Linked DNA regions of Homo sapiens: all the other regions are linked to region 2. Evidence: promoter capture Hi-C in human tissues and cell types (Jung and others, 2019). All regions are on one chromosome and are shown on one strand. The core of a region is centred on a gene start or on the middle of the fragment in contact, and the rest is flanking DNA. Distances in the headings are between cores, read along the strand shown.

What was found. Contacts are between HindIII fragments. The study calls those that stand out against the background at their distance.
Region 1: a fragment that was not itself captured here is called in contact with the fragment with the promoter of SAFB2 in region 2 in 2 of the 25 tissues and cell types used here (dorsolateral prefrontal cortex and lymphoblastoid cells).
Region 3: a fragment that was not itself captured here is called in contact with the fragment with the promoter of SAFB2 in region 2 in 1 of the 25 tissues and cell types used here (dorsolateral prefrontal cortex).
Region 4: a contact is called between a fragment that was not itself captured here and the fragment with the promoter of SAFB2 in region 2, in 1 of the 25 tissues and cell types used here (dorsolateral prefrontal cortex).
Region 5: a contact is called between the fragment with the promoter of FEM1A here and the fragment with the promoter of SAFB2 in region 2, in 1 of the 25 tissues and cell types used here (dorsolateral prefrontal cortex).
Region 6: the fragment with the promoter of ARRDC5 here is called in contact with the fragment with the promoter of SAFB2 in region 2 in 2 of the 25 tissues and cell types used here (dorsolateral prefrontal cortex and spleen).

The regions. Positions count from the first base shown.
Region 1 is chr19:4,988,480-4,992,010 of GRCh38, reverse strand. The region is part of intron 1 of KDM4B (lysine demethylase 4B); the gene reads right to left. Among named protein-coding and RNA genes, the nearest start is that of KDM4B, 21 kb to the right of the region's middle. RefSeq lists enhancers at 1,242-1,741, 1,742-2,243, 2,460-2,964, 2,965-3,470. The HindIII fragment of the contact is 6,577 bases long and covers 1-3,531 here.
Region 2 is chr19:5,620,718-5,624,106 of GRCh38, reverse strand. It overlaps SAFB2 (scaffold attachment factor B2), which reads left to right and starts at 1,331. Exons shown (of 21, transcript NM_014649.3): 1 at 1,331-1,577; 2 at 2,711-2,798. The coding sequence starts at 1,392. It overlaps SAFB (scaffold attachment factor B), which reads right to left and starts at 1,024. Exons shown (of 21, transcript NM_001201338.2): 1 at 713-1,024. The coding sequence starts at 901. RefSeq lists enhancers at 1-593, 594-1,326, 1,247-1,586, 2,060-2,792 and silencers at 567-616, 1,587-1,706, 2,711-2,931. The HindIII fragment of the contact is 5,746 bases long and covers 1-3,389 here.
Region 3 is chr19:5,044,151-5,047,597 of GRCh38, reverse strand. It overlaps KDM4B (lysine demethylase 4B), which reads right to left. Exons shown (of 23, transcript NM_015015.3): 6 at 1-122. Among named protein-coding and RNA genes, the nearest start is that of KDM4B, 77 kb to the right of the region's middle. RefSeq lists an enhancer at 181-984. The HindIII fragment of the contact is 4,426 bases long and covers 1-3,447 here.
Region 4 is chr19:4,938,782-4,942,431 of GRCh38, reverse strand. UHRF1 (ubiquitin like with PHD and ring finger domains 1) reads right to left here. Exons shown (of 17, transcript NM_001048201.3): 6 at 804-904; 7 at 501-687. Among named protein-coding and RNA genes, the nearest start is that of MIR4747, 7.9 kb to the right of the region's middle. The HindIII fragment of the contact is 9,189 bases long and covers 1-3,650 here.
Region 5 is chr19:4,790,216-4,793,657 of GRCh38, reverse strand. FEM1A (fem-1 homolog A) reads right to left here and starts at 1,924. Exons shown (of 1, transcript NM_018708.3): 1 at 1-1,924. The coding sequence starts at 1,803. It overlaps LOC124904620 (a long non-coding RNA gene), which reads left to right and starts at 2,366. Exons shown (of 2, transcript XR_007067103.1): 1 at 2,366-2,460. RefSeq lists enhancers at 300-956, 1,244-1,303, 957-1,613, 1,834-2,103, 1,614-2,271. The HindIII fragment of the contact is 32,697 bases long and covers 1-3,442 here.
Region 6 is chr19:4,901,270-4,904,514 of GRCh38, reverse strand. It overlaps ARRDC5 (arrestin domain containing 5), which reads left to right and starts at 1,619. Exons shown (of 3, transcript NM_001080523.3): 1 at 1,619-1,942. The coding sequence starts at 1,690. It also overlaps a transcript of UHRF1 not described here. The HindIII fragment of the contact is 23,961 bases long and covers 1-3,245 here.

The DNA.
Region 1 (3,531 bases), core at 568-3,067, 630 kb after region 2:
GGACCTTACCACTGCCACCCGTCTCACAGAAATAAGCAGAATGAGAAAACAACACCCGTATGGAGAACTACTGAGTAATAAAAGAAAGTAACTACTGATACACACAACAACTTCGACAGATTGCAAGCGAAAAAACCCAATCCCAAGAGGTTAAATACGCTGTGATTCCATCTACATAACATTCTCAAAAGGGCAAGGTTACAGAGATGCAGAGATCCTCAGCCGTCGCCAGGGCCTGGGGGTGACAGAAGGGAGAAGCAGAGCGTTCCTTTGTGTTGACAGAACAGTTCTGTATCTTGATTGCAATGGTGGTTCCTGGAATCTGTGCAGGTAACAGAATGTCGCAAAGACTCTACCAAAAGAATGAGCCAGTGCTAACACTGAGGACGCCTGAGGAAGGTCTGAAGCCACAGTGTCCTGTGTCAATTTCCTAGTTTTAACGGGACACTAAAGTTATGTAAAATGTTACCACTGGAGACAGCAGGGTGAAGCCTAGGGAAATCTCTTTATTATTTTTGCAACACCTTGGCAGTCTATAATTCATTCTTATTTTTGCTTTTGTAGCGACAGGGTCTCACTGTGTTGCCCAGGCTGGTCTCGAACTACTGGACTCAAGTGATCCTCCCACCTCTGCCTCCCAAAGTGCCTGGATGACAGGTGTGAGCCACCACACCCAGCCTCTGTAATTCTTTAAAAATTAAAAGTTAACAAAAATAATATGAGGGCTATTTCACCACAGATGGGGGTAGGGCAGGGGGGGTTGCCATGGGTTGATGGTTTTGGGGCTGGGTGAGGGGCCTGGGGGGCTCGTTATTCCATGTTGTCTACCTTTCTGTGTAGTCAAATTCTCCATAACAGTGTTTTTATTTTTATTTTTTGCTTTACTATTTTTTGAGACCGAGTCTCACTCTGTCGCCCAGGCAGGAGTGCAGCGGCACAATCTCAGCTCACTGCATCCTCCGCCTCCTGGGTTCAAGCAATTCTCCTGTCCCCTCCCTAGTAGCTGGGACTACAGGCGCCCGCCATCACGCCCAGCTAATTTTTGTATTTTTAGTAAAGACGAGGTTTCACCATATTGGTCAGGCTGGTCTCGAACTCCTGATCTCAGGTGGTCCGCCCACCTCAGACTCCCAAAGTGCTGGGATTATAGGCGTGAGCCATCATACCCGGCCCATAATAAAGTTTTTTAAAAAAAATAATAAAGGGAACCAACACAAGAATAGCACTAAGAAGGGCCTTATCCATCCGGGTTTATAAATATCCTTCAAAATGCACAGTGTTAGAATTACGGGCCATCTCATCGAATATTCTCCCCAAAACAAAGGCCGGAGAGGCGACCAGAACTAGTTCAGTGTTTGTACAACACAGATCTAAAAGAGACACTGGATTACCCCCAGGCCAACTTCCATAATGACAGTATTAAAACACGGCATGTGAGCTTTGCCCAATACTCATGACCTCTAGATGAGCTCTCCACGGCCCCAGGATCCCAGGCACAGCCCTCCCATCTCCTCGCCACGCTGCCTTCAGACTCAGGTAACAGATGCATCCTGCCAGAGGCCACCTGCCCCAGGCCCTCATTCCAGTACAGAAACCTGCACTGCTAAGTCAGGGCATGTCTGCCTCGGGCTCCACACAAGTGTCTCCCTTTCTAAGTCCCTGTTTTTGGGTGGAAGTGAACTGCTCTAACACCAAGGTTCTGACCCTCTTTTTGTGGGGCGGGGACAGGGTCTCACTCTTTTGCCCAGGCTGGAGCACACTGGTGCAATCGTGGCTCACTGCAGCCTCAACCTCCTGGGTTCAAGCGATCCTTCTGCCTCAGCCTCCCAAGTAGCTGGGATTACAGGTGCCACCTCCATGCTCAGCTAAGCTTTTAATTTTTTTGTAGAGACTGGGTCTCATTATGTTGCCCAGCCTGGTCTTGAACTCCTGGCCTCAAGTGATCCTCCCACCTCAGCCCCCCAAAGCGCTTGGATGACAGGCATAAGCCACCCACTGCACCTGGCCCAAACTGTTTCTAAAGGAAATTAACAAGGGATGACATGAAAAGGAAGACTGAGTCAGACACCGTGGCTCACGCCTATAATCCCAGCACTCGGAGAGGCCGAGGCGAGTGGATCACCTGAAGTCAGGAGTTCAAGACCAGCCTGGTGAACAAGGTGAAACCCTATCTCTACTAAAAATGCAAAAATTAGCCGGGCACAGTGGCGCATGCCTGTAATCACAGCTACTTAGGAGGCTGAGGCAGGAGAATCGCTTGAACCCAGAAGGCAGAGGTTGCAGTGAGCCAAAATCGTGCCCTTGCACTCCAGCCTGGACAACAAAGTGAAACTCCATCTCACAAAAAAAAAAGAAGAAGAAGAAGAAGAAGACTGGGCATGGTGGCTCATGCCTGTAATCCGAGCACTTTGGGAGGCTGAGGCAGGCGGATCACCTGAGGTCAGGAGTTCAAGACTAGCCTGGCCAACATGGTAAAACCCTGTCTCTACTAATAATACAAAAAAATTAGCTGGGCGTGGTGGTGCATGCCTGTAATCCCAGCTACTGGGGGAGGCTGAGGCAGGAGAATCGCTTGAACCTGGGAGACGGAGGTTACAGTGAGCCAAGATCGTGCCACTGCACTCCAGCCTGGGCGACAGAGCAAGACTCTGTCTCAAAACAAACAAACAAACAAAAAAAAACAAAGAAAAAGAAACAGAAACAGAAAAAAGAAAGGAAGACTGGCAGACACAGCCAACAGCACGTGTGAACACGGCCCCCCTGCCCCACCATCCTTAGGCAAAGAACCAGCACTCTGCAAGCGGCTTCCACCCCAGGCCACAGGGCCCTTCACAGAGCACCCTGCCAAGCCCTCCACGGCAGCGACTCACCTCTACCACTTCAGCACTGTCCAGACAGCCACCCTCCCGTCCTCTCATCACAGACAAGGAAGCGGAGGCAAGGGACCGGCCCAGTGAGACTGTGAAATACATTTTGTCCTGTTTCCTGGCCTACGACTCCCCCAGATCCTCGGAATTCTCCAGTGTGCTAATGAGGTGACTAAGGGCTTGGCAGCCCCTCGGGAGCTGAGGGAATAGGGCTGCTCACTGAAAAGACCCAGGCTGGACGGGAGGGGAGGGGCATGTGGCTGAAGGCTGACTTGATCACCCAGGCCAATGCAGTGAGGTCACCCAAGCCTCTGCGAGGAAGCTGAGGTAAAACCCGGAGGACTGGGATGGAAGCTTCCCCACAGATGAATGCGTGGAGGTTCCTGGAGACGTCACAGCCCGGGGAGAGCACGGAACCCTCTGTGCCCCTTCCCACATCCCTCACCCTACACATGTCTTCATCTGCCTCCTTTGTAAAATCCTTTCTAATAAGCTGGTAAACGTAAGTAACAGCTCCCCTGAGTTTTGAGAGGTGCATTAGCAAATTAAGCTCAAAGAAGGGTTCATGAGGCCGGGCACGGTGGCTCATGCCTGTAATCCCAGCACTTTGGGAAGCCGAGGCGGGTGGATCACGAGGTCAGGAGATTGAGACCATCCTGGCTAA
Region 2 (3,389 bases), core at 82-2,581:
CTGCCCGCCTCCCGGGCAGTTCTGAGGCTGGTTTTAAAGTCCACCCGGGGTCTCCCCTCATTTCACATTTCTGATCACTACCGTCAACACCACTTTTCCTTCCTGCCACGTTACTTCACCGAGCGAGTACCGGCAAACCGTGAAAACTGGATTGTGGTGGGTTTTTTTCTATTTTTCCCTTTGAGTATGTCCTACGGGTGTTTCCTTTGTAAATCAGCCCCGATTCAGGCTGGTCGGTCCCCTGTGGGTCACAAAGCATCTTCCCTGGGGAAACCAAGCAGCCGAATCAGGAATCCCAGGGCCTGGGTTCAAATCCCGACGCTGCCCGTCCTCGGCCGTGTGACCTTGGCCGAGTCCCTTCCCCTCGCCTGGGAAGTGAGGGTTTCAGGGTCTCCCCTCCAGGTACGGAGGAGGGGACGAGACGAGGGGAGAACCCTCCTCTCAGTGGACGATGTCACCCGTCACCGTTTCTCCTGCACGCGTGCCGTTTTTGTGGTTCTCCTGGCCCCATTGCGGCGTTAGGATTTGAACCCAGGCCCAGCCGGCCAAGGAACTCTCTCCGGGGCCTCGGAGGAGCCGGGGGACGCGAGAGCGCCAGGTCCGGCGAGGCCGCGAACGCGGCCGGGGGCGGACGCCAGGGCCCGCGAGCCACCGTCGCGGCCAAGAGGACCCCAGACCCACCCTGTGCCCGCCCTCGGGGCCCCAAATCCACCTTCTTCAGCCGCTCCATCAAAACGCTCTTGTTGCCGCTCGAGTCCACATTCCGTTTCCTCAGCTCCGCCCGCAGATCGATCACTCGCAGGTCGCTGAGGCGCCGCGTCCCGGTCTCTGACGAGGCGGAGCTCAGAGCCGCCGCGCCCGCCGCTCCAGAATCACCTAGGCCTGACAGAGTCTCCGCCATTCCAGGGACCCTGGCTCCGCCGCCCACTTTCCACAGAACCGGGCCGGTTTTATCAGGCTCCTAGCACAAAATGGCGCCGCCTGCGAGGGAACCGCTCCAGTCGCCCCAGCGCGCCTCGCTTCTGCGCAGGCGCACCAAGCGTAGGTTCTAGTATCCCGGTTGCAACTGCACATGCGCAGTGAGAACAACGCGGGGATGTGCGCAGACGCGTTGCGTCTCGTCAGCCTCCCGCCGGGAACTGCCGGGACGCATGCGAGCTGCAGATTCAGCGCTTGCGCGTTGTGCCGGGGAACCCGCGGTTGGTGGACGCGCGAGCGTCCTTGCTGCTAAGTACGCTAGTGGGGGCGGTGCGCGTGCGCGTGCGCGGCCGCAAAGCGGGGCGGGAGGAAACGAGTGCGTTTTCCTCTTAGGCGGCGCCATTTTGTGTTCAGAGCCGCTATAGCTGCCGGCGGTGTGCGACTGAGTCGGTGGCGAAGACGGGAACGCGACGATGGCGGAGACTCTGCCCGGGTCGGGCGACTCGGGCCCTGGCACGGCTTCTCTCGGCCCGGGCGTTGCGGAGACTGGGACGAGGCGGCTCAGCGAGCTGCGGGTGATCGATCTGCGGGCGGAGCTGAAGAAGCGGAACCTGGACACGGGCGGCAACAAGAGCGTCCTGATGGAGCGGCTCAAGAAGGTGAGGCGGCGCGGGGCTCGGGGGTGGCGCAGGAGGCCCGGGCACGCCCCCGCCTGCACCTGTCACCGCGGCTCCCGGACCCGGGGCGCCCTGGGTTCGCCCCGCGTCTTGGCCGACCCCGGTTCGAGGTGTCGGGCACCCAGGGGGCCGGCTGTGTGACCTTGGCCCGTCACCGCTCCTCTCTGTGCCTCCCTTCCTATCCTCTTTCCACCTTTTCTCCTCAAGCGCGCTCAGCGTGCGGTCTTCTCCGCTACCAGGGTGGCCCCGGGACCCCTCCTGGGGCTCCCGATCGAGCCTTGGCTCTGTGACCTTGGGCAGGTGCCTTTCTCTCTGTGCCTCAGTTTCCTCCTCCGGAGAATGGGTGTCTGGCGGACTCCAGAGCATTTACAGGAAAGGGGGCGGTGCTTGTTCTTGCCCCAGGGCTTTGGCCTTTACGAAGCTGTCCACCCGGGTCCCCCAGATCTTCTCGTGGCCGGCCCCTTGTTGTCATTTTGGGTCTGCCTGAGACATCACCTTCCTGAGCGCCCTTCCTAATGCGCTGCCCCACCTCCTTGCCAGCTCATCCTGCGTTTGTGTCGCACCTCGCTGAAAGCAGGGGCTAAATGCAAAATATTAAGGGGTTGGGAATTGTCTGTTTCCGCAACTGGAACAAACAACTTGAGCATAGGGAGGGAGCTTGTGGGTACCCAGTCCTGGACCCGGCAGGTGGCAGGCACTGAGGGACCTGTTGAATCTCCCCAGGCTGGCTGCTGTTCCTCCTCACCAGCGGTGGCCAGCCCTTCACCGAGGCCGGGCCAAGTGCAGCCTCTCTGTTCTAATTTGTCCCATCATATAACTTTAAAGTCGAAGGTTTGGCATTGTCGAGTTGAGTTGCCATTTTGGAACTGGTCCTTGACCCCAATTCTGGAGCTCCTGCTCACAGCCTCCCTCTCCTTTGTCATTTGGACCCAGAGAGACCCAAGTTGTGCGGGGTTCCTCCTCCGCCTTTTGGGCTTGCGGCCCAGATAGCTGACCCGGAGTTGCTCTTTGCAAGGACGGGTTTGCCTTTGTTTCATGGGAGGTTGTTACTTGTAAGGAACAGTGTGTGCCCTGCAGCTCTTAATGATGTTGTAAAACTCATCTCTCCCTAATAGGCGGTTAAAGAAGAGGGGCAAGATCCTGATGAAATTGGCATCGAGTTAGAAGCCACCAGCAAGAAGTCAGCCAAGAGATGTGTTAAAGGTATTGTACATATGCTGCTTGGGGCTTGAGTGTTCAGAGAATTTAGAGAAATGGTGTGTAGTGTGCTCTTCCCGCCTTCTAGGCTGGGAGAATTTCTCTGGTACTCGGTGTCCCTCCACTAAGAGTTAGCTTTGCTCGTCACCACCTAACAGGTAGCTCTGTCAAGGGCACAGGGAGGAGGAAAGAGATGTACAGGTGCCAAGTGCAATTAAAATATACGAAAAACGTTTCAGCTTCTGCCATTGGGATTAAAAGTCAACTAGAGAAAGACAAGCTCTTAAAGCTACTTCTACGGGTCTGAGGAACCAAATGTACCTACTTGGCTTCCTTCCTGGTTCAAAAAATAGGTCTTAACCCAAAGAAAAGGACACCAACCTGAGACCGAATAGAACTCAGCTTTGCTAGGGTCCAAAGTAGATTGTTGGGGTATTTGCACTCAGCCTATTTTTTACTATTACGGTTTTTGAATGTGAAGGTTTAATTCACAGACCGTTAAATTCATCAGGTTAAGGTGTACAATTCAGTGCTTCCTAGTGTATACACAAGGCTCTGCCACCACCACCACCGTCTCCTTCTGGATTTTCATCACCC
Region 3 (3,447 bases), core at 355-2,854, 580 kb after region 2:
GTGGTCTTCCACATGCCGAAGTACAGGTAGGGCGTGTTCACGCCCTCGATGATGGTGCCGCACTCGCGCTCCACCATGTCCAGGATGGTCCGGAGGCTCCCGATGTTCCACTGGGCCACGTCCTGTGGGGCGGCAGAGCAGCGTCGGCAACCGCCCGGCCACCCCCAGAACCTGCGAGCCCTGGGGTGCAGGCTAATTCTCCCCAGAGTCCCAGGGGTCGCTGCCCATCCTCCTCCACCCCAGTATCTGCGGCCCCCCCAGGGGCCGGTCATACCCTGCAGACCAGGGGCTGGTCTTAACCTGTGTGAGATTCTTGCCCAGGCTGGAGTGCAGTGGCAGAATCATAGCTCACTGCAGCCTCAACCTCCCAGGCTCAGGTAATCCTCCAGCCTCAGTCTCCTGAGTACCTGGGACTATAGGCTATAGGCGTGAGAAACCACACCTGGCTAATTTTTACTTTTTTCTGTGTAGAGATGAAGTCTCACTCTGTTGCCCAGGCTGGTCTCGAACTCCTGGGCTCAATGGTCCCTCCCACTTTGGCCCCTCCAAGCGCTGGGGCTGCAGGCATGAGCCGCCATACCCAGCCCAGACACCTTTTCTGAAGGGCTCACCGCCAGCTTGGCCCTTCCAGGAAGGGCCCCATCGCACATGCCAGCGTGCACCAGGCAGGCAGGGCCTGTCAGATTCCACTGAGCTGCGTGCTTCCTGCTGGGTGGAGGCCTTGTTGTGAAGCCTGCAGTTTGGGAGTGCATAATTAACACGCCTCTAAGTCAATGACACGGAAGGAGAAAAACAGTCACCACTTGGGGCTAACCCAGCGATGGTACCGGAGCCAAGGCCCAGTGACAGCCCTTCCACAGCTTCTGACCGAGGAGACGAAGACAGTTTTCAGAACTAGGCAAACAAGGACGGAATCCCCACCCACCAGGCACATCTATTCTTAATGCCACAAGCAAACAAACCCCGTCCTGTCCCAAGAGCTCATAAAATACACATTAGTCACTGCAGTCCCCGGAGAGGCTCATGGCCTGCTGAGAGGCCGAGAGGAGCCCAGACACACATGAACGTGAGCTGCTCTCACAGCCTGAATCCACCCCCCACCAGCTGTTCCTGCACCTGCACGACCGGCCCTCAGACTTGGCAAGACCAGCGGTTCCTTTGCAAGGTGAGCCCTGGCAGGAGCCCAGAAGAGGTGAGGAGGGAGGCAGTGATGAGACCCAGATGGGGCAGAGGGAGGCCCCAGGCACAGGCTGAGCTGGGCGCAAATTCATCCTGGGACCACAGCAAGTCGCTTCTCTGCTGTGGGCTGTTTCCCCCGCTGTAAAAGTAGGCTAGTGCATAGGCTAGGCATGGCAAACACATGGCAAGGAAGCCCTGAAGCTTCCCCTGGCACCTGTGGCAGGTCGGCCTGGGCTGGCACAGCCTGCGTGCGGCTGCAGAGTCCCTCCCGGGTCATCACTACAGGCCAAGTGCAGGCAGTGCAGGCCAGCCAACCCAGAGGCTCTCATGCACTGGAGTCTGAGGCTGAACTTTCACTTGAAAACAATCAGGCAGGATCCGTAAGAGAAAGACAAGCCCCAGTCAGAAAGAAAATACTTGCAAGTCACAACTGATAACCAAAATACACAGCAAACTCTCAAATTTAACCAGAAGAAAACAAACAGCATGGTTAAAAAACAGAAAAAGATGGCCAGGCGCGGTAGCTCACGCCTGTAATCCCAGCACTTTGGGAGGCCAAGGCAGGTGGATCACCTGAGGTCAGGAGCTTGAGACCAGCCTGGCCAACATGACAACACCTCGTCTCTACTAAAAATACAAAAATTAGGCTGGACATGGTGGCTCATGCCTGTAAATCCCGGCACTTTGGGAGGCCAAGGCGGGCAGATCACGAAGTCAAGAGATTGAGACCATCCTGGCCAACATGGTGAAACCCCATCGCTACTAAAAATTCAAAAATTAGCTGGGCGTGGTGGTGGGCACCGTAGTTCCAGCCTGGTGACAGAGCAAGACTCCATCTCAAAAAAAAAAAAAGAAAGAAAATTAGCTGGGTGTGGTGGTGGGCGCCTGTAATGTAATCCCAGCTACTTGGGAAGCTGAGGCACAGAAATGATTGAACCCAGGAAGTGGAGGTTGCAGTGAGCCTAGATCACGCCACTGCACTCCAACCTGGGCAACAGAGCGAGACTCCATCTCAAACAACAACAACAACAACAACAAACTGGGCAAAAGACATGAAGAGAGCTCACCAAGGAAACACACAGATGGCAAACAGGCATGCAAAGGGGCCCCGCCGCGAAGGCAGCCATCGGGGGAATGCAGATTGAAATGGCAATGAGACAGCGCAACACGCCTCCCAGGGTGGCCAGGATGCACAACACCGACAACTCCAGATGGGGGCGGGGAAGCGGGGCCCTGGGAACGTTCATTCGCTGCTGCTAGGAGCACACAGTGGGACAGGTGGGCGGGAGGACAGTTTGGTGGCGTCTTAAAAAACTAAACGTCCTCTCACCACGTGGTCCAGCAACTGTACTCCTTGGTATTTACCCAAAGGAGATGAAAACTTCTGCCCACATTGACCAAACTTGGAAGGGTCCTTTAATAGGTGAATGAGCAGGCACACTGTGGTGCACCCGGACCATGGAGTATTATTCAGCGCTGAAAAGAAATGAGCTCTCAAGCCATGAAAAATGGAGCAAACTTGAACACCTATTGCTTGGTCAAAGAGGCCAATGGGAAAAGGCTACCGACTGTAGGATTCCAGCTCACGGCATTCTGGAAAAGGCTGAGCTATGGAGACAGTGAGACATCAGTGGTTGCCTGGGGCGCAGGAGAGGGATGGGGGAGAGGGAGGAATGACGAGGGGGAGCTCAGGGGATCATTAGAGTGGTGGGATGACTCCATGTGACACTGTAATCCCAGCTACTCGGGAGGCTGAGGCAGGAGAATCGCTTGAACCCAGGAGGCAAGGTTGCAGAGAGCTGAGATTGCGCCACTGCACTGCAGCCTAGGTGACAGAGCAAGACTCTGTCTCAAAGACAAAGAAACAAACACACAAGAAACGTTCACAGCACCATTATTCAAAATAGCCAAAAAGAGAACACAGCCCAAATGTCCGTCAGCGGATGAACTGATCAACACTGCGCGGGATAAGGTGGACACCCCCACTCCGATAAACACCGCGTGGGATAAGGTGGACACCCCACTCCGATAAACACCACGCGGGATAAGGTGGACACCCCACTCCGATAAACACCACGCGGGATAAGGTGGACACCCCCACTCCGATAAACACCGCGTGGGATAAGGTGGACACCCCACTCCGATAAACACCACGCGGGATAAGGTGGACACCCCACTCCGATAAACACCACGCGGGATAAGGTGGACACCCCCACTCCGATAAACACCGCGTGGGATAAGGTGGACACCCCACTCCGATAAACACCG
Region 4 (3,650 bases), core at 740-3,239, 680 kb after region 2:
GATCACGAGGTCAGGGGATCAAGAACATCCTGGCTAACAAGGTGAAACCCCATCTCTACTAAAAATACAAAAAATTAGCCAGGCGTGGAGGCGGGCGCCTGTAGTCCCAGCTACTCGGGAGGCTGAGGCAGGAGAATGGCGTGAACCCGAGAGGCGGAGCTTGCAGTGAGCTGAGATCGCGCCACTGCACTCCAGCCTGGGAGACAGCGAGACTCCGCCGCAAAAAAAAAAGAAAAGAAAAAGAAAAGAAAAAAGACTCCGTCTCAAAAAAACAAACAAAAAAAGAAACAGAGTCTCTACGTCCCCCAGGCTGGTCTTGTGTTGCCCAGGCTGCTCTTGAACTCCTGAGCTCAAGTGATCCTCCCGCCTCGGCCTCCCAAAGCACTGGGATTGCAGGCGTGAGCCCCCGCGCCTGCCCCTCTCCTGTATCTCCTCAGTGCCCCTCTGGGGATTTGTAGGGGGCGCTCTGGTCTCCCCGCGGCGGGCAGGGCCGCACTCACCACTCGTCCTCGCTGGGAACACTGCTGAGGGGCGGGTCCAGGCAGTAGATGTGGAAGGCCATGTCGCACTCATCGCACATGAGCTGCTTGTCGGGGTCCTGCCGGCCCCCGCACAGGTGGCAGGCGCAGACCCGGCAGAGTCTGTTCACGTCGTCCTTGCAGTGCTTGCAGGACGGCCCGCTCTTCCCTGGGCACGGGGCGGCAGGGTCAGCTCCGGCGGGGCCCGGCCAAGCCAGAGACGGGACAAGAGCCCCCGCCCCGTGCCCACCGCGGAAGATGGGGAAAGGCTGGCTCAGAACTCACGTCTCATGGGGTTGTCAACCATGGGGCTCCCTTCACCCGGCCGCTCAATCTTGAAGACTTCGTCCACGAAGATGATCCGACAGTCGTTCAGAGAATCATCCCTGCAAGGAACGAGGACGCTGGAACATTCTGGCCTGCCGAGGCCCCTAAATCTACTCACAGCACTTGAACACCACGGGTTCTCGGGATGCCTGGGGCAACAGCTCAGCTACGCCCCCTAGCAATCAAAGCTGCACTCACAGAAGCAACATGAAACGGAACAGGGCGCAGTGGCTCACGCCTGTAATACCAACACTGGGAGGCCGAGGTCAGGAGTTCGAGACCAGCCTGGCCAACATGGTGAACCCCCGCCTCCACTGAAAATACAAAAATTAGCTGAGCTTGGAGAAGCGCGCATGTAATCCCAGCTACTCGGGAGGCTGAGGCAGAAGAATCACTTGAACCCGGGAGGCAGAGGTTGCAGTGAGCCAAGATCGCGCCACTGCACTCCAGCCTGGGCGACAGGGCAAGACTCAGTCTCAAAAAAAAAAAAAAAAAAAAAAACAAAACACAGAAACCAGAGTTTCATTGCAGGATGCCCTGGGAAGAATGAGTTTGAACCTTTGGCTAAGGAGCACCAAATCCACAAGAACCGACAAGCAAGACTCATAAAGGTTGGCCGGGCATGGTAGCTCAGACCTGTAATTCCAACACTTTGGGAGACCGAGGCAGGCCGATCATCTGAGGTCAGGAGTTCGAGACCAGCCTGGCCAACATGGTAAAACCCTGTCTCTACTAAAAATGCAAAAATTAGCTGGGCATGGTAGCGCGCACCTGTAATCCCAGCTACCCAGGAGGCTGAGGCAGGAGAATTGCTTGAACCCAGGAGGCAGACGCTGAAGTGAGCCAAGATCGTGCCACTGCACTCCAGCCTGGGCGACAGAGTGAGACTCCATCTCATCAAAAAAATATATAAATAAATCAAGTTGGGCACCGTGGCTCACATCTGTAATTCCAGCACTTTGGGAGGCCAAGGTGGGTGGATCACGAGGGTCAGGACTTCGAGACTAGCATGGCCAACATAGTGAAACCCCGTCTCTACTAAGAATACAAGAATTAGCTGGGCATGGTGGCCCGTGCCTGTAATCCCAGCTACTCGGGAGGCTGAGGCAGGAGAATCGCTTGAACCTGGGAAATGGAGGTTGTGGAGCTGAGATGATCACGCCACTGCACTCCAGCATGGGCGACAGAGCAAGACTCCATCTCAAAAAAAAAAAAAAAAAAAAAAAATCATAAAGGCAACGCTTGATCCAATGGCCTACATCAAAATACAAGAACTCCTGTGAGTGAAACTGATCCCCCGAGATCAATAATCCGACATCCCCATCAGCAACGTCCGAGGGAAACAGCACTTGAACACACGCTGTGTATGTAATTCTAAATTTCCTAATAAGCACGTTTGAGAGGTAAACATAGGTGGAAGTAATTGGAATATGTTCCATAGAACCCAGTGTAGACAAAAGATTATTTCAACATGGAATGAATATGAAAAAGTTATTAATGAGCTACTTTACATTCTTCTTTTGTACCAGGTCTCTGAAAGCCCATGTGTTTTTTTTTTTTTTTTTGAGACAGTCTCGCTCTGTCGCCCAGGCTGGAGTGCAGTGGCACGATCTCGGCTCACTGCAAGCTCCACCTCCCGGGTTCACGCCACTCTCCTGCCTCAGCCTCCTGAGTAGCTGGCACTATAGGCACCCGCCACCACGCCTGGCTAATTTTTTGTATTTTTAGTAGAGACGGGGTTTCACCGTGTTTGCCAGGATGGTCTCGATCTCCTGACCTTGTGATCCGCCCACCTCGGCCCCCCAAAGTACTGGGATTACAGGCATGAGCCACTGCGCCTGGCACCCATGTGTATTTTACACTCACAGTACATTCCAGTTCCTCCTGGCCACATTTCAAGCACAGCACAGGTGGCTCTTGGCTATGGGACAGTGTGGGAACACACTGACCTACCAGCTCACAGGTAGCACAGACGCACACAGCAAGTGACATCTCCTGGTCATCTCTACAGTCTGGATAGAGCCATTTGGAACTCCTGGGACAAATGACCAGGATTCCTCAACAAATTAAGTGTTAAGGAAAAGGAGGCTAAGGCAGGAGAATTGCTTCAGCCCAGGAGTTCAAGGCTGCAGTGAGCTATGATTGCACCACTGCACTCTAGCCTAGGTGAGACAGCAAACAGCAAGACTCCGTCTCAAAAAAAAAGAAAGAAAAACATATTCTAAGACTGGGTATAGTGGCTCATACCTATAATCCCAGCACCTTTTGGGAGGCTGAGGCAGGAGTATCACTTGAACTCAAAAGTTCGAGACCAATCTAGCCAGACCCCCATTGCTACCGAAAATTAAAAAAAAAAAAAAAAAAAAAATGGCCGGGTGCAGTGGCTCATGCCTGTAATCCTAGCACTTTGGGAGGCTGAGGCGGGTGGATTATCTAAGGTCAGGAGTTCAAGACCAGCCTGGCCAACATGGTGAAACCCTGTCTCTACTGAAAATACAAAAAAAAATGAGCCAGGTGCAGTGGAGCACGCCTGTAATCCCAGCTACTCGGGAGGCTAAAGCAGGAGAATCGCTTGAACCCGGGAGGTGGAGGTTGCAGGGAACCAAGATCGTGCCACTGCACTCCACCATGGGTGACAGAGCGAGACTTTGTCTCATCAAAAAACAAAAAAAAAAATTAGTCAGGCATGGTGGTGCACGCCTATGGTCCCAGCTACGTGGGAGGCTGAGGTTGGAGGATTGCTTGAGCCCAGGAGGTTGGGGCTACAGTGAACTGAGAGCTTGCCATTGCACTCCAGCCTGGGCA
Region 5 (3,442 bases), core at 675-3,174, 830 kb after region 2:
GATCAGGGCATTCATGATGGCCGGGCAGTTGTTCTGGGCTGCTATGTGTAGCGGGGTGTTGTTGTCAAAATCCCTGCTGTCCGGGTCGGCCCCGCAGTCGAGCAGCACTTTGACCACGTGCAGGGAGGGGAATCTGCCCACGGGATAGCGGCCCACGTTTGTGGTGTCCTTGTCCACAGCCATGTGCAGAGGGGTGAAGCCGTTCTTGCCCCTGGGCGCGCACTTGAGCAGGCGGTAGACGGTCTGGTGCTTCAGGTGCTCCTGGCTGGGGGTGCACTCCACTTTCTCCAGCAGGTAGAGCAGGTGGAGGATGATGGCCAGCGCCTTGGTGAACTGGGCTGAGTCTCCGGGCTCCCTGGGCAGCTGCAGGGCCCGTTCCACTTCCCGGACCCCTTTGGTGAGAACCCCCATGAGGTCTGCAAAGCCGATCTGGGTGCCCAGGCTGCCTTTGGCGGCCCGGTCCTGAAGCACGTAGGAGAAGAGTTCCGCGAAGGAGAGGAAGCTGCTGGCGGTCATGGGGCTCAGAGGCTCCAGGTTGCTCTGTTGCATGTCCAGGGCGTACTTCCACAAGCGGATGCAGCGCTCGAAATTGCCCGAGTCGGCGTACACGGCACCCCTGTAACGGATGTAATAGGAAGTGTCCGGGTGCGAGGGACCGAGGATGCGCTCCCGGATCAACAGGGCCTGCATGCGCATCTCATCCGGGTCGGTGATCAGCGCCTCCAGCTCCTCGGTGGTGTTGACCTCCCTGGAATAGTCATAGGCCAGGACCAGCTGTGGGGGCTCCGGTTTGGGCAGGTACTCGCCCCCCTGGTGACGCAGCTCCATGGCCCGCCTCCAGTGTTTAAGGGCCCCAAGCAGATCTCGTTTCTTATCCACATACGTAGCTCCCAGCAATTCCAAGGCTTCCACGGCAGCTTCCCGGCTGGTGGGACAGCAGCTTTCGTAAGATTCCCCGTTCAGTGGTTCCTCTGGGGAGGAGCTGCAGCACGGAGCCCCCTGAGGCTGCGCACACCCCTGGCTGGTGGAGGGGTCTTCTTGGGGCAGCCCAGGCTGAGCCTCTCCCCCTGCGACCTGCTCCTGGCCGGGCTGCTCCTGGATGAGGTACTCCACGATGTTGGTGTGGCCCGTCACGCTGGCCGCGAGCAGCGGGGTCATGCCGTAGCCGTCACGTTCCATGCGGGCCTTGCACCCCAGCAGCAGCTGCAGGATCTCCAGGCTGCCGGACTCGGCGCAGTCATGCAGGGCCGTGTTGCCCTTGGCGCTGCGCCGGTTCACCTGGGCGCCCTGCTCCAGCAGGTAGCGGGCGATCTCACGGTGGCCCTTGTAGCACGAGATCATGAGGCACGTGTGGCCGTGCCGGTTGGCCACCTCCAGGTCGGCCTGGTGCTCGCCGACCAGGTAGCGCACCACCTCCAGGTGGCCGTCGAAGCAGGCGGCGCGGAGAGGCGTGGAGTTGGTGCGCGTGGTGCGGTTCACCGAGGCCCCGCGGCGCAGCAGGCTCCGCACCACGTCCAGGTGGCCGGCTGCGGAGGCGGCCCACAGCGGCGGCGCGCCCTCGATGGTCTCGCCATCGAAGTGCACCGAGCCACCGGCCTCCACGCTCGCGCCGCACCGGTCCACCAGGTACTCCACCACGTCCAGGTGGCCGTAGCGGGCGGCGATGAGTAGCGGCGTTCCCCCGCCGGCCACCTCGCCCGTCAGCTCGTCCAGTTCCTCCCGGCTCCGGCCGCTGAGCAGCTTCTGGAGCAGCTGCAGCTTGCCATCACGGGCGGCGTTGTACACGGCGGTGCGGAGGTCCATGGTTCGGGCCTCCGCCAGGCCATGGGCCGGCCGCCGGGGGACGGGGAGACGGAGGATCAGAGCCCGGACGGGCGGGAGGCAACCTTCACCGTCCCCCTCGCCGCCATCTTAGGGTCTCCTCGGGCGGAACAAAATGGCTGCCGCGACCCGACGGATGGCAGCACGCCGGGAAATGGAGTCCTTTGCGCGGGCCCACTCCATAGAACAGAAAAGGAATCTTGGGGGCTCAAGACTACACTTCCCCAAAGGCCACAGGACAGCCCCTGAGAGCTGTGAGCGCGCGGCATGGTGGGAATTGGCGTTCCAGTCGCAGCGCATGGCATCGGAAGCTAGCAATTTGAGGACTACAATTCCCGTCATGCAGCGTCACACGACCTAGCTTGTGGGAACCGGCGAAATTTGGTGACGTACTTCCCGTGGCTATCTCTGCGTCAGAGCGTATAGAAAAAGCAGGCGCGATACCCTTAAGGACTACATTTCCCAAAAGGGATCACGAGCGACTCTGAGCCAATCAGGACCGAGACCGAAGGCTAAAAGCGACTAGAGGGGACGCGTCTGTTTTGGGCTTGGAGCACGGGCAAGCGGCCCACCGGCAGGGGGCGCCCGGAGGAGGCCGAAAAGCTGGACGGGGCGAAAACGTTTTGAGCTGGGAGAACGGTAAAAAATGACGCGCTCACTTCTTATTCTCACATTCATATATTCATTTATTCATTTACATACATTTATGTATATTCTAGTATGTGTCAGAATTTCCTTCTTTTATTTACGTATTTATTTTTATTTATTTCTTTCAATAACTTTGTGGGGTTTTTTGGTTTTGGTTTTTGTTTTTGAGACAGCGTCTCGCTCTTGTTGCCTAGGCTGGAGGGCAATGCCGCAATCTCGGCTCACTGCAACCTCTGCCTCCCGGGTTCAAGTGATTCTCGTGCCTCAGCCTCCCGAGTAGCTGGGACTACAGACATCCACCACCACGCCCGGCTAATTTTTGTATTTTTGGTAGAGACGGGTTTCGCCATGTTGGCCAGGATGGTCTCGAACTCCTGACCTTGGGAGATCCGCCCGCCTCAGCCTCCCAAAGTGCTAGAATTACAGGCGTGAGCCACTATGCCCGGCCTGACGTGCTGACTTCAATTCCTTTGGATAAAGACCCAGAAGTGGGATTCCTGGATCACCTGGTAGTTTTATTTTTAAATTTTTCTTTGGAACTTCCATACCATTTTCTATAATGGCTATACTAATTAAAATTACCATCAGTAGTGTATAAGTGTTCTCTTCAAATCCTTGCCAACGTTTGTTACCTTTCGTCTTTTTGATGATAGCTATTCTAGCAGTTGTAAGGTGATCCATTCCCTGGCATTTTTTGACAACAATGAATTATATTATGAAAAAGAAATCTTTGGTGACCCGAATTCTTTATTTTTAAAGTTTATTCGAGGTGTAATATATATACAATAAAATGCATTTTTAATAAAGAGGACAGGTTTGGCCGGGCAAGGTGACTCACACCTGTAATCTCAGCACTTTGGGAGGCTGAGGTGGGAGGATTGCTTGAACCCAGGAATTCGAGACCAGCCTGGGAAACATAGCACATCTCTACAAAAATAGAAAAATTAGCCGGGCGTGGTAGCGTGCACCTGTT
Region 6 (3,245 bases), core at 370-2,869, 720 kb after region 2:
GGTGAAACCCTGTCTCTACTAAAAATAACAAAAATTGGCTGGGTGCGGTGGCTCACGCCTGTAATCCCAGCACTTTGGGAGGCCAAGGTGGGCGGATCACGAGGTCAGGAGATTGAGACCATCCTGGCTAACATGATGAAACCCCGTCTCTACTAAAAATACAAAAAATTAGCCAGGCATTTGTGGCGGACGCCTGTAGTCCCAGCTACTCGGGAAGCTGAGGCAGGAGAATGGCATGAACACGGGAGGCGGAGCTTGCAGTGAGCCGAGATCGCACCACTGCACTCCAGCCTGGGTGACAAAGTGAGACTCCAATCTCAAAAAAAAAACAAAAACAAAAACAAAAAGAACAAAAATTAGCCGGGCACGGGGGCAGGTGCCTGTAACCCCCATGCCCGTAATCCCAGCTACTTGGGAGGCTGAGGCAGGAGAATCGCTTGAACCCAGGGGGCAGAGGTTGCAGTGAGCCGAGATCACGCCACTGCACTCCAGCCTGGGCAACAGAGTGAGATTCCACCTCAAAAAAAAAGAGAAATGTCAATCATGCAGGGAGTTGCTGCTTCCTGATGGTGTCGATGTTCAGATTAAGCACACACTGCCCTGATCAACTTCAGTGCGCACCAGATTTCAGGTCCTGGCCATATCTCTATGTTTTTTCCAATATAGACCAATATAAATGTAGAGTCTTTAAGATGAAAATGAGTGTGTATGCACCTGGGCACAGTGGCTCACAACTGTAATCCCAGCACTTTGGGAGGCCAAGGCAGGCGAATCATGTGAGGCCACAAGTTCGAGACCAGCCTGGCCAACATGGTGAAACCCCGTCTCTACTAAAAATACAAAAATTAGCTAGTTGCAGTGGCACTTGCCTGTAATCTCAGGTACTTGGGGGGCTGAGGTGGGAGAATCGCTGGAACCCAGGAGGCAGAGGTTGCAGTGAGCCGAGATCACACCATTGCACTCCAGTCTGGCTGACAGAGTGAGACCATCACAAAAAATAAAAATAAAATAAATAAAAATACCAAAAAAAAATTAGCAAAGCATGGTGATGGTGCATGCCTGTAATTCCAGCTACTCAGGAGGCTGAAGCAGGAGAATTGCTTGAACCCGGGAGGCAGATGTGGCAGTGAGCCGAGATCGCGCCACTACACTCCAGCCTGGGTGACAGAATGAGACTTTGTCTCAAAAAAAGAAAAAGCCCAGGTGCAGTGGCTCACGCCTGCAATCCCAGCACTTTGGGAGGCTGAGGTGGGTGGATCACGAGGTCAGGAGATCGAGACCATCCTGGCCAACACAGTGAAACTCTGTCTCTACCAAAAAATTAGCTGGGCATGCTGGCATGCACCCGTGGTCCCAGCTACTCAGGAGGCTGAGGCAGGAGAATTGCTTGAACCCATGAGGCGGAGGTTGCAGTGAGCCAAGATGGCACCCCTGCACTCCAGCCTGGGCTACAGGGTAAGACTCCATCTCAAAAAAAAAAAAAAAGAACCAGTGAGGACTACAGGTTTCCCAATCAACCACCCACCCTAAACAACAGTTTTGCCTCCCCTCCTGGCCACTGGGGTCCCCACTTCCCGGAACTCTGAGCTGAGTGATGTCATAGATGGATTACCTCACTAGGGCCAACGAACCGGGAATTTCAGGGACATGGGGGACAGAGAGGAATGTCTCTCTACCCCCCAACCCCCCATGTCTGTGGTGAAGTCGATCGAATTAGTGCTGCCCGAGGATAGAATCTACCTGGCTGGCTCCAGCATAAAAGGGCAGGTGATCTTAACCCTGAACAGCACCCTGGTGGACCCCATAGTGAAGGTGGAGCTCGTGGGAAGGGGTTACGTCGAATGGAGTGAAGAAGCCGGGGCATCCTGTGATTATAGCAGAAATGTTATTTGCAACAACAAGGCAGACTACGTGCATAAGACAAAGACATTCCCAGTGGAGGGTAAGGACGAGGCCAACAGCCACCCCTAGCCATGACAGGAACCTGGGTCTGGAAAATAAACACATCCGAGAGTCAATCAACAAAACTCTAGGGCTATCAGAAATAGGGAGTGGCCTGATTTCTCCCTAGGAGGGAGGCCATGAAGAACAATGACCATCAGATACACAAAACGCAAAAATAACAAGACATAAGGAGCTGATCGGAACCCCGATATTCAAAATGAAGGTTCAAAGTAGTCTCCTTGGAAAATGCTCAATCCAACAACTGCCTTTGAGAGGCCTCTGAGAAGTCTTATTCTTTTACAGATAAGTTTCACTCTGACAGCAAAACCCCAGGAGACAAAGTAGGCAGTCCTGCATTCATGGGGAGAGACAGTGGAGGTGGGCCAGGCACAGTGGTTCATACCTGTAATTCCAGCACTTTGAGAGGCCGAGGCAGGTGGATCACTTGAGGTCAGGAGTTTGAGACCAGCCTGGCCAATATAGCGAAACCCCATCTCTACCAAAAAATACCAAAAAATTAGCTGGGCGTGCTGGCACGTGCCTGTAATCTCAGCTACTTGGGAGGCTGAAGCAAGAGAATCACTTGAACTCGTGAAGGGGAGGTTCCAGTAAGCTGAGATCGCACCACAGCACGCCAGCCTGGGTGACGGAGCGAGATTCCCTCTCAAAAAAAGAAAGATAGTGGAGGTAGAAGAGCAAGGGAGACCTTCCAGAGAAGGAATAACTAGTCCCCAGTTCCACCAGGTCAGATCTGAAATCTGAACAAATGTCAGAGAGTCTGCTGAGTTGTCGGGGAAATTATATGTCCATTGCAAAATGTGTTTGTGGGGATATTCCCAGGTATTAAGCAGTCAAGCAGAACACGTGGCCAACACTTGGCTGAACAAAGTGTAATTTAATTTAATTTATTTCTGTATTTATTTATTTGTATCTTATTTATTTATTTATCTATTTTTTGAGACACAGTCTCGCCCTGCTTCCCAGGCTGGAGTGAAGTGGCACCATCTCGGCTCGCTGCAAGCTCCGCCTCCCGGGTTCAAACGATTCTCCTGCCTCAGCCTCCTGAGTGGCTGGGATTACAGGCACCCGCCACCATGCCCAGCAATTTTTGGTATTTTTAGTAGAGGCAGGGTTTCACCACGTTGGCCAGGCTGGTCTCGAACTCCTGACCTCGTGATTCGCCCACCTCGGCCTCCCAAAGTACTGGGATTACAGGCATGAGCCACCAGGCCTGGCTTATGTATTTATTTTTGAGACAGGGCCTCGCTCTGTTGCCCAGGCTAGAGGCCAGTGGTGTGATC